Regions from separate parts of the Homo sapiens genome. Here regions 2 and 3 are each linked to region 1. The links are contacts of gene promoters, found by promoter capture Hi-C in blood cells and fetal thymus (Javierre and others, 2016). All regions are on one chromosome and are shown on one strand. The core of a region is centred on a gene start or on the middle of the fragment in contact, and the rest is flanking DNA. Distances in the headings are between cores, read along the strand shown.

Evidence for each region. Contacts are between HindIII fragments. The CHiCAGO score rates a contact against its expected background, and 5 or more counts as called.
Region 2: a contact is called between a fragment that was not itself captured here and the fragment with the promoter of SYT10 in region 1, in 1 of 17 cell types (M1 macrophages). The highest score is 6.1, in M1 macrophages.
Region 3: a fragment that was not itself captured here is called in contact with the fragment with the promoter of SYT10 in region 1 in 4 of 17 cell types (M0 macrophages, M2 macrophages, erythroblasts and 1 more); the score reaches 10.0 in M0 macrophages.

The regions. Positions count from the first base shown.
Region 1 is chr12:33,438,513-33,441,212 of GRCh38, forward strand. SYT10 (synaptotagmin 10) reads right to left here and starts at 1,307. Exons shown (of 7, transcript NM_198992.4): 1 at 860-1,307. The coding sequence starts at 1,010. RefSeq lists an enhancer at 218-1,034. The HindIII fragment of the contact is 7,804 bases long and covers 1-2,700 here.
Region 2 is chr12:33,991,280-33,993,979 of GRCh38, forward strand. No RefSeq gene overlaps it. Among named protein-coding and RNA genes, the nearest start is that of ALG10, 30 kb to the right of the region's middle. The HindIII fragment of the contact is 1,138 bases long and covers 684-1,821 here.
Region 3 is chr12:32,758,390-32,761,089 of GRCh38, forward strand. No RefSeq gene overlaps it. Among named protein-coding and RNA genes, the nearest start is that of YARS2, 3.8 kb to the left of the region's middle. The HindIII fragment of the contact is 3,155 bases long and covers 1-2,700 here.

The DNA.
Region 1 (2,700 bases), core at 57-2,556:
TCCACCCCCAAGCCTTGAGGAAAATCCACTTGAGACTTTTTTCCATCTCCAGATTTCCGACGGTCGATATCCTCCTGCATCCAGCCCATTTCCTAGTTTCCTGAAGGGTAGGGAGGACGTCTGTGAGTTGGATGTCTGAGAGCGTGCGTGTGCTAGGGATTTTAAACGTCTCCCCTCTCTTCCACTTCTTCGATATGTGCTCTGAGCTTTAGGTGTCGCCTCACAAATGGGATCAATAATCCTTGTTTTACCAACTTTGTCATGAAACCCTAGAAAATCATATATATTAAAAGGGCTTTAGAAATTGTCAGGTGCCCGACAGGTTGCAGCCGCGGGTTACCTCGGAGGCCAAGGCAGCCACCTCTGCAAGGGAGTTCTGCGTCCAAGCATGGCTTGTCCGTCCCGCCTGGCCCCCATCAACAAGGCCGGGACCAGCGGCCGGTGGAACGAGCGAGAGCAGCCCTAGTCCCACAGGTGAGCCGCCCCCACAAGCAGCCAAGCCGCGAGCCGTCCCGGCGCCGTCACCGCCCGCACTCACTTCTCCACTCCGGGAGGGAGATGGGAGGCGTGGGAGAACGCGGAGAGGCGCGGCGAGGCTGGGAGCGGGAGACGGCGCCGGGAGGCGGGAAGCGGACCAGAGAATGGGAGAAGCCCGGCAGGTGGACAGGAGGAAACAAAACCCAAACGCCCCACCCTCGAAGTCGTCAGGAGCTGAGCGAAGGAAGGAGCGAGGTAGGAAAGCGTGGCGCCCCAAATATGCCGCGGGAGCGGCGCGGGAGGCGCAGAACCCCGGAGCTTGCAGCCTAGCGCGCGGGGTCCCAGCGGAGCGCGAGGACGCGAGCGGAGCCCTCCCGGTTACCTGTGCTGCTTCCGCCCTGGCTGCCCCTGTCCCGAGGGAAGATGCCCGAGCACTTCTCCCACTCCACCTGGCCGGCGAAGCACAGCTCGGTGACGATGTGCAGAGCCTTCTGGCACAGACTGTTCACTCCGTCCTCCTTGTGGAAACTCATCGTTTGGCTTTTCTTTCGTTTTCTCTTTTTTTCCCAGTTAGCCGTCTTTTCCTCTTCCCGTACCTCTAACCCCTCTGGCGCCCTAAGCCATAGTCCGCCCGCGGTGACTTTGGCTGGAGATTGCGCCGCTGAGAGCCGGCAACTCTTAGGAGCCCCACGTTGGCCCCATGGCGGGAGCGGAGGGCGTAGGGGAAGGAGAGGCGCGCGAGGAGGCTGCGGCTGCCGCGAGGTTTGCGCCAACTCTCCCGCCGCGCGAGCGAGCCGAGGCGCGCTGGAACTAGAGACCCGGCATGGAGTGCTGAGGGGAGGGGGGAGCCGTAAAAAAGCCAAAGCAAGCCCTCGACTCGCAAGCACGCCCCCCTCCTCTCCCCAGCGCACTGGTGTTTCTGGCGGGTGCCTGGCGGCGACGCGTCCAATCGCAGCCCGGCGCGGGCGCTAGGTGACAGGCGGCGGAGCGCGCAGACCCGGCTCCCCGCGTCCTCTGAAGAAGGGACTCGCGAGGGAGGGAGGGAGGGAGGGCGGGCGGCCCGGCGCCCCTGCCGAGGCCGGGGATGCTCATCGTTGCCCAGAGTTGGCCCGAGGAGCCCTCTCCGTTTTCCCAATACTTTTCCCTGCATCAGTGCAGCCATCCCCGCCGCCTTTGTCTCTCCAACTTTTCCACGGATGTATTCTACTTTCTGTGCTATCTGCTTCTGCCCTTCTGGAAAAGTCATCCCAATCGAAGAAAAACTGAAAAAGTTAATTAGAAAAAAGAATGCGTGAATAAGCAAACCCTCTTAGGTAGATCACAAAATAAAATGTTATTTGTACTAATAATCAGATAAGATTCTGTCGATTAATCCGTAATTGGCGATTGAGAATGCACAACTTGACTCCCTCCATCTCCTTTCTTAGCGACTTAAAACAAGACATGGGTGTTAAAGGGAACAGGATTAAGTTCAAATCTGTCACACATCTCAGCCTAACCTTGAAGTTGTTTTCAGGTCTTGGCGATCCTCCTACTTCAGCCTCCCTAGTAGCTAGGACTCCAGGGACTCCAGGCGCTATTTTTTTTTTTTAAACTTATTGTAAAGACAAGGATCTCACTATGGTGCCCTGGCTGGTCTCGAACTCCTGGGCTCAATCAATCCTACCGCCTTAGCTTCCCAAAATGCTGGCACTAGCCACCACGGCCGGCCTGCTTTCGGGTCTTTGCCTGAGTCTGTAAAATGGGAGATTTGGACTCGGATGTCTTAAGCTCACCTGTTTTTATAATTCTTTAATGCAAATGGGTGCAAATCAGTAGAACTAAAGCGACAAAATAATAAACATGGGCTTCAGGATATAATATGTTTATATGGTTTTTAAACTGTTTTCGGGCAGAGTTTGATCCCATATCATAACCTGAGGATTGATTTAACCCTCTTGTGATGAGGGATTCTTTATTTTTGAAGTGGGATACATTGAACTTGTTAGCGTGTCTATGCTAGTAGAATAAGTAGTCTTTTTTAAAAACAGCTAATCAGTTCATGGTAAATTATTTGCTTTGCACAGGACTATGGTAAACCTAGTATAAATATTAGGCATAGCACTCCAGTAGGGAAGCATTCATTAGTTGAATCATTTTGACCTGATCCATAGGACGATTGGTTTAACTAGGACTATTTTTACCACGAATTAAGACAAACTAAAATCTGCAGGCTTCATTTGG
Region 2 (2,700 bases), core at 3-2,502, 550 kb after region 1:
TATATTTTAGCAGATTTAGATTTGAGCATCTCTATTCCAAGCTGGGATTCCCTAAAGGTTGTGCCGTCAAGGTTAAGGAGAACAGAAAGTGAGGCAGTTATTACATGGGGAATTTGATCCCAGGTTTAACTTTCTTGGATCAGGGAATTTCAAAACCTAAACTTGGTTTAAGTAGTTACTGACTAGTAATGTGCTCTGGTGCTTGACAGAACCAAATGATATCTCCTTTGGAGGAAGCTGTCTACATAATACATCACAAATCAATCTTGCAATTTTTCACATGCAATATTGAACATATATTCAACGATAATAGGGAACACAAGAAACTGGAGAACAAAAATGAAAGAATTAGAACCAAAGAGATGTGAAAAACTAGAATCATCAAATGCAGATGATAAAGCAACAATGCACATAAAGAAATGAATGTATTTGTTTGGCAGTTTTTAAACTTTTAATTAATACATAACTGTTATGAGAGCTCTTTTAACAAATTTAAGATGCAAGGAAAAAATAAAAAGGAATTAATTATTCCTAAAATATATAAAGTAGCATGTATTAATATGTATGCATTACAATGATTTAAAATATTGTAAATATTATTTACAATATTTTATTGTAACAAAAATAAAATATTTTTGGACAAATATTAACACAATATCTTTAGACAAATTAATTAGGAAAAAAGCTTTAAATCAACAGGTTTTACTTGCGGTATGGGAGGGTTTTTGGTGAGATATCTATACAGTTGAGAATATATAGCAGTGAGAATGAAACAATGATCTAAATTTCTATTAATAAAGATGGATAATTTGTCAAACATTTATTGCTTAAAGCCAAAATGCTAGCGATCTTTTTCTAAAGGTACCTTATTGAATTTTCTAAGGCTCACCTTTAAAAAGGGCTTAAGTGGGAACTATGGATAGATATAGGGATAATTTTGGAATAAATATAATACAACCTTAAGCATGTAGAGACCCTCTAATTAGACAATGGATCTGTCTACATGTAATGATAATTCTGTCTAGAGTCATGCTTCTTAAACTTTGAGACAGGATCCCACTCTGTCACCCAGGATGGAGTACAGTGGCATGATCATGGCTCACTGCAGCCTTAGCCTCCCAAGTTCAATTGATCCTCCTGTCTTAGCCTCCTGAGTACCTGGGACCATGGGTGTGCACCACCATGCTTGGCCAAATTTTTTTTTATTTGTAGAGATAGAGGTCTTACCATGTTTCCCAGGCTGGTCTTGAATTCTTGGGCTTATGCAATCCTCCCATAGAGGTCTTACCATGTTTCCCAGGCTGGTCTTGAATTCTTGGGCTTATGCAGTCCTCCCACATTGGCCTCTCATTGCACTGAGATTACAGGTGTGAACCACTGCACTCAGTCTTTCTTATACTTTAATGTGTACATGAATCACTTGTGTATCTTGTTAAACTACAGATTCTAATTCATTAGGTCTGGGGTAAGCCTGAGAGTCTACATTTTCTAACTAGCTTCAGGTGACACTGATGTTGGTGATTTTGACTAACAAGCAATGGTTCTTCAACTTTAGTCTTCATTAGAATCACCTGGAGGCTTCTTGAACTAGATTTCTGGTCTCCACCCACAGGGTTTTTGATTTAGTAGCTCTAAGTTGGAGCCTGAGTTTTTTCATTTCTAAAAAAAAAAAAAATTCCCTGGTAACGCTAATACTGCTGGTCCAGGTGCTGGATTTTGAGATCCACCAATTTGTTGTATAGGATTTGAAACAGGCAATAGAAAATGCCAAAAACACAGAACAAAATAGCTTTGTTCATCATCCAAGGCTCAAGCCAATCAAGCTTCACTGGCGAAAGCAGCACAAGGAGCCTGGGTTAATAAGCTCTGCCAGATATCTTGACTACTAATTAGCTCTAGTGATTGCAAACATTCCATTGATATGCTGGGACACACTAGCTTCCTGAGCCTAGTCAGGAAAATGGTTTGAAGCTTAGGAATTAAACATAACTCTATTGATATTATTTCATATGTACAAAAAACTTATAATCAACTAGTAGCCATTTTTACAGAAAAGGAGGGCCAGAGAGGTTGCTTGAGATAACACAGCCAGTGGCACAATTAAAATCAGCAAGGCCTCTATTACTATTGTGTAAAATGAAATACTATTCCACAGTACACGGTGATTCCACCCAAATCTTTCCTCCTTGAAGCAGATGTTCCTTGAAATGTAAGCTTACACTATGAGCTTAGGGAAGAGAAGTCACTCAATTCCTTTCTGAAAATAATTAGGCAGAAGATCAGGAATTATTTACTGCCAAGGTATTTAAAACACCTCTATTAACAGAAAAAAAGGAGGGGCAGGAAACTGGCTTTTATTGAGCAGCTATAATTTTCAGACCCTATGCTACATACTCTCTCCAACATATTTATGTTTGATCCTCATAACACAGTTTAAGGATGAAGACCTTGGACCTCAAAATTAAAGTCACTATTCCAAAGTCAAACACCTAAGAAAAATAAGAGCTATTTATTCCATTTCTAAGGAATAGAACCCAATGTGCCATACTCTTGGCAAGCAGAACATTGGAGGAGGTAATGAAATGGCCCCTAGGTAGGGAAGTAGTCCAGTGATTTAGAAGAAAGACTAAAGATTGATTGAGTCCATTTCATCTACAGGACATATGCAAAATCAGCCCCAACCTTATATTGTACCTAGAC
Region 3 (2,700 bases), core at 81-2,580, 680 kb before region 1:
TCTACCTGGGATTACAATTTATTATAAAGTCTTTTAAAAATAGATTTGAGCTCTGCTTTGTCTCTTAAGTTTAGTTGCATCTCATGAAGAGGCAGCAAAGTCTGATATAGAAGGTGGTGTCGGGCCGGGTGCGGTGGCTCACGCCTGTAATCCCAGCACTTTGGGAGGCTGAGGTGAGCGGATCACTTGAGGTTGGGAGTTTGAGACCAGCCTGACCAACATGGAGAAACCCCATCTCTAATAAAAATACAAAATTAGCCGGGCATGGTGGCGCATGCCTGTAATCCCAGCTACTTGGGAGGCTGAGGCAGGAGCATTGCTTGCACCCACGAGGTGGAGGTTGCAGTGAGCCGAGATCATGCCATTGCACTCCAGCCTGGGCAACGAAAGCCAAACTCCGTCTCAAAAAAAAAAAAAAAAAAAGAAGGTGGTGTCACAGGAGGTGCTAGATGAGACTTGACAGTAGCTTAATGACAGTAACAAGCAACAAGTTTGGAAAATACAGTGAGATCAATTACTCTCTTTTTATAATTTGTGTTGGTATTATAGGGGAAATTGGGCTTTGTCCCAAAGACAGGAGCAATAAAGAAGATGGGACTTTCAAACCTTTGGAATTATATCCGTGGCTAAAATTTTATGGGATTGCACCCATGGTTTGCATTTGGGTTACAAAAAAGTGACCAAGTTAATTCTTGCTGTTTTTATTGGCTTAAAAAGTGAGTGAACAAGGGTTAAAAAGTATTTTTAAAAATATGATTTATCTCAACTGTAATAACTTGAGGTTAACTGGCCTTGAATTAGAGGCACATGTGTTTTACAGTTACCTTTTCCTGCAACAAAATGCCACATAAATGTTCTCTTTGAAGGGATCCCTGTTTTAAATGGCTTGGTTTTCAAAATGTAAACAAATATAAATATAATAGAATTCAAAAGACACAGAGTAAACAGTAATGGTATTTTAACTGATCTCTACTTAACTTTGAAAATTTCTCTATCTCTAGCATTGTATTAAATATATATTCAGATTACAGCAGAGATCTGATTAGGGCTGAAATATGAGCTGCTCGAACATCACAGCAAAATGACAGCAGAAAGAAGTCTGAGGAATTCTGATCATTATAATCACTATAAAATATAATTCTTATTTGTGTTTTCTGTTTTTTTTTCCTTGGAGAAGATTATTGGTGACATCAGATGCAAAAGGGAGTGGATAGGAACAAGAAATAGAAATTGTAAACCTATAATTGTAAACCTACGTAACCATGCCCGGTTACGGCCGGGCATGGTGGCTCACGCTTGTAATCCCAGCACTTTGGGAGGCTGAGGCGGGCAGATCACCTGAGGTCAGGAGTTTGAGACCAGCCTGACAAACATGGTGAAACTCCCGTCTCAACCAAAAATACAAAAATTAGCCAGACGTGGTGGCGGGCGTCTGTAATCCCAGCTACTCAGGAGGCTGAGGCAGGAGAATCACTTAAACCTGGGAGGCGGAGGTTGCAGTGAGCCGACATAGCACCACTGCACTCCAGCCTGGGCAACAGAGTGAGACAACATCTCAAAAAAAAAAAAAAGAAAGAAAAGAAAAAGAAATTGTAGGTTATTGCAGAAAGGCCATGGCTTTTCTTCCAGTTGAAGTATTTCCATGGCTTTTCTTCCAGTTGAAGTATTTCCATGACATTCCTATCTCCTATTACTTGGGAAGAATCATTTCTAAAGATTGATTTCATGTCTTTGTTGTCTTTGTATAATAATTTATAACTCAATCTGCCTCATAATTACATCTTCTCACACATGACTTTCATGTTGCTGTTTTTCTTGAAACCTACATCTAAAGTCCTAAAGATCCTCCCACTCTGCCCATCCTTACCTGCAAGGCAGTTGCTCCCCTTTCATTCCAAACTAATTTCTTTCAGGAAGCTCCTCTGCATTAGGTAGGGCGAAGGAAGGATGCTTTTACTGTCCAGGTTCATCATGCCCCTAAAATGTATTAAAATGTAAAATCAATAATGCTTACCCTTCCCACACAAAAAAATGGAAAGACCATTAAGTTCTATTAAAATTTATAGAAATTTATGTGAGCTAAGTGTCTTGAAACCTAGTCTGTGTCCCTTGATTGAAGTGGCTTTAATGCTTTTTGAGCTGATGGTCATATTAACATCCAAAAATTTTTTATAAGAGATTAGCTTATTTTAAGATGCTGATTGTAGGAGGATAATTAGACAAAGAAACATGTTACTAGATATGCATTTCCTTTCTATATTAGAGTTTAGAGAAGGATACCCCAAGTTTCTTTCTTTCTTTCTTTTAGGCTGCTGTTGTAGCCAGTGGAATAACCTGGAGGTCTCAGCATTGCCTTAACTTTATGCACCTGGTCCCATACCATATGGCTGGATAATGTTTTGAGATATTTATGGGTTTAAAAATCTTTCATTTTCCAGGCCGGGTGCGGTGGCTCACGCCTGTAATCCCAGCACTTTGGGAGGCCGAGGTGGGCAGATCACGAGGTCAGGAGTTCGAGACCAGCCTGGCCAACATAGTGAAAACCCGTCTCTTCCAAAAATACAAAAATTAGCCAGGTGTGGTGGCACACGCCTGTAGTCCCATCTACTCAGGAGGCTGAGGCGGGAGAGTCGCTTGAACCCGGAAGGCAGAGGTTGCAGTGAGCTGAGACCACGCCATTGCACTCCAGCCTGGGTGACA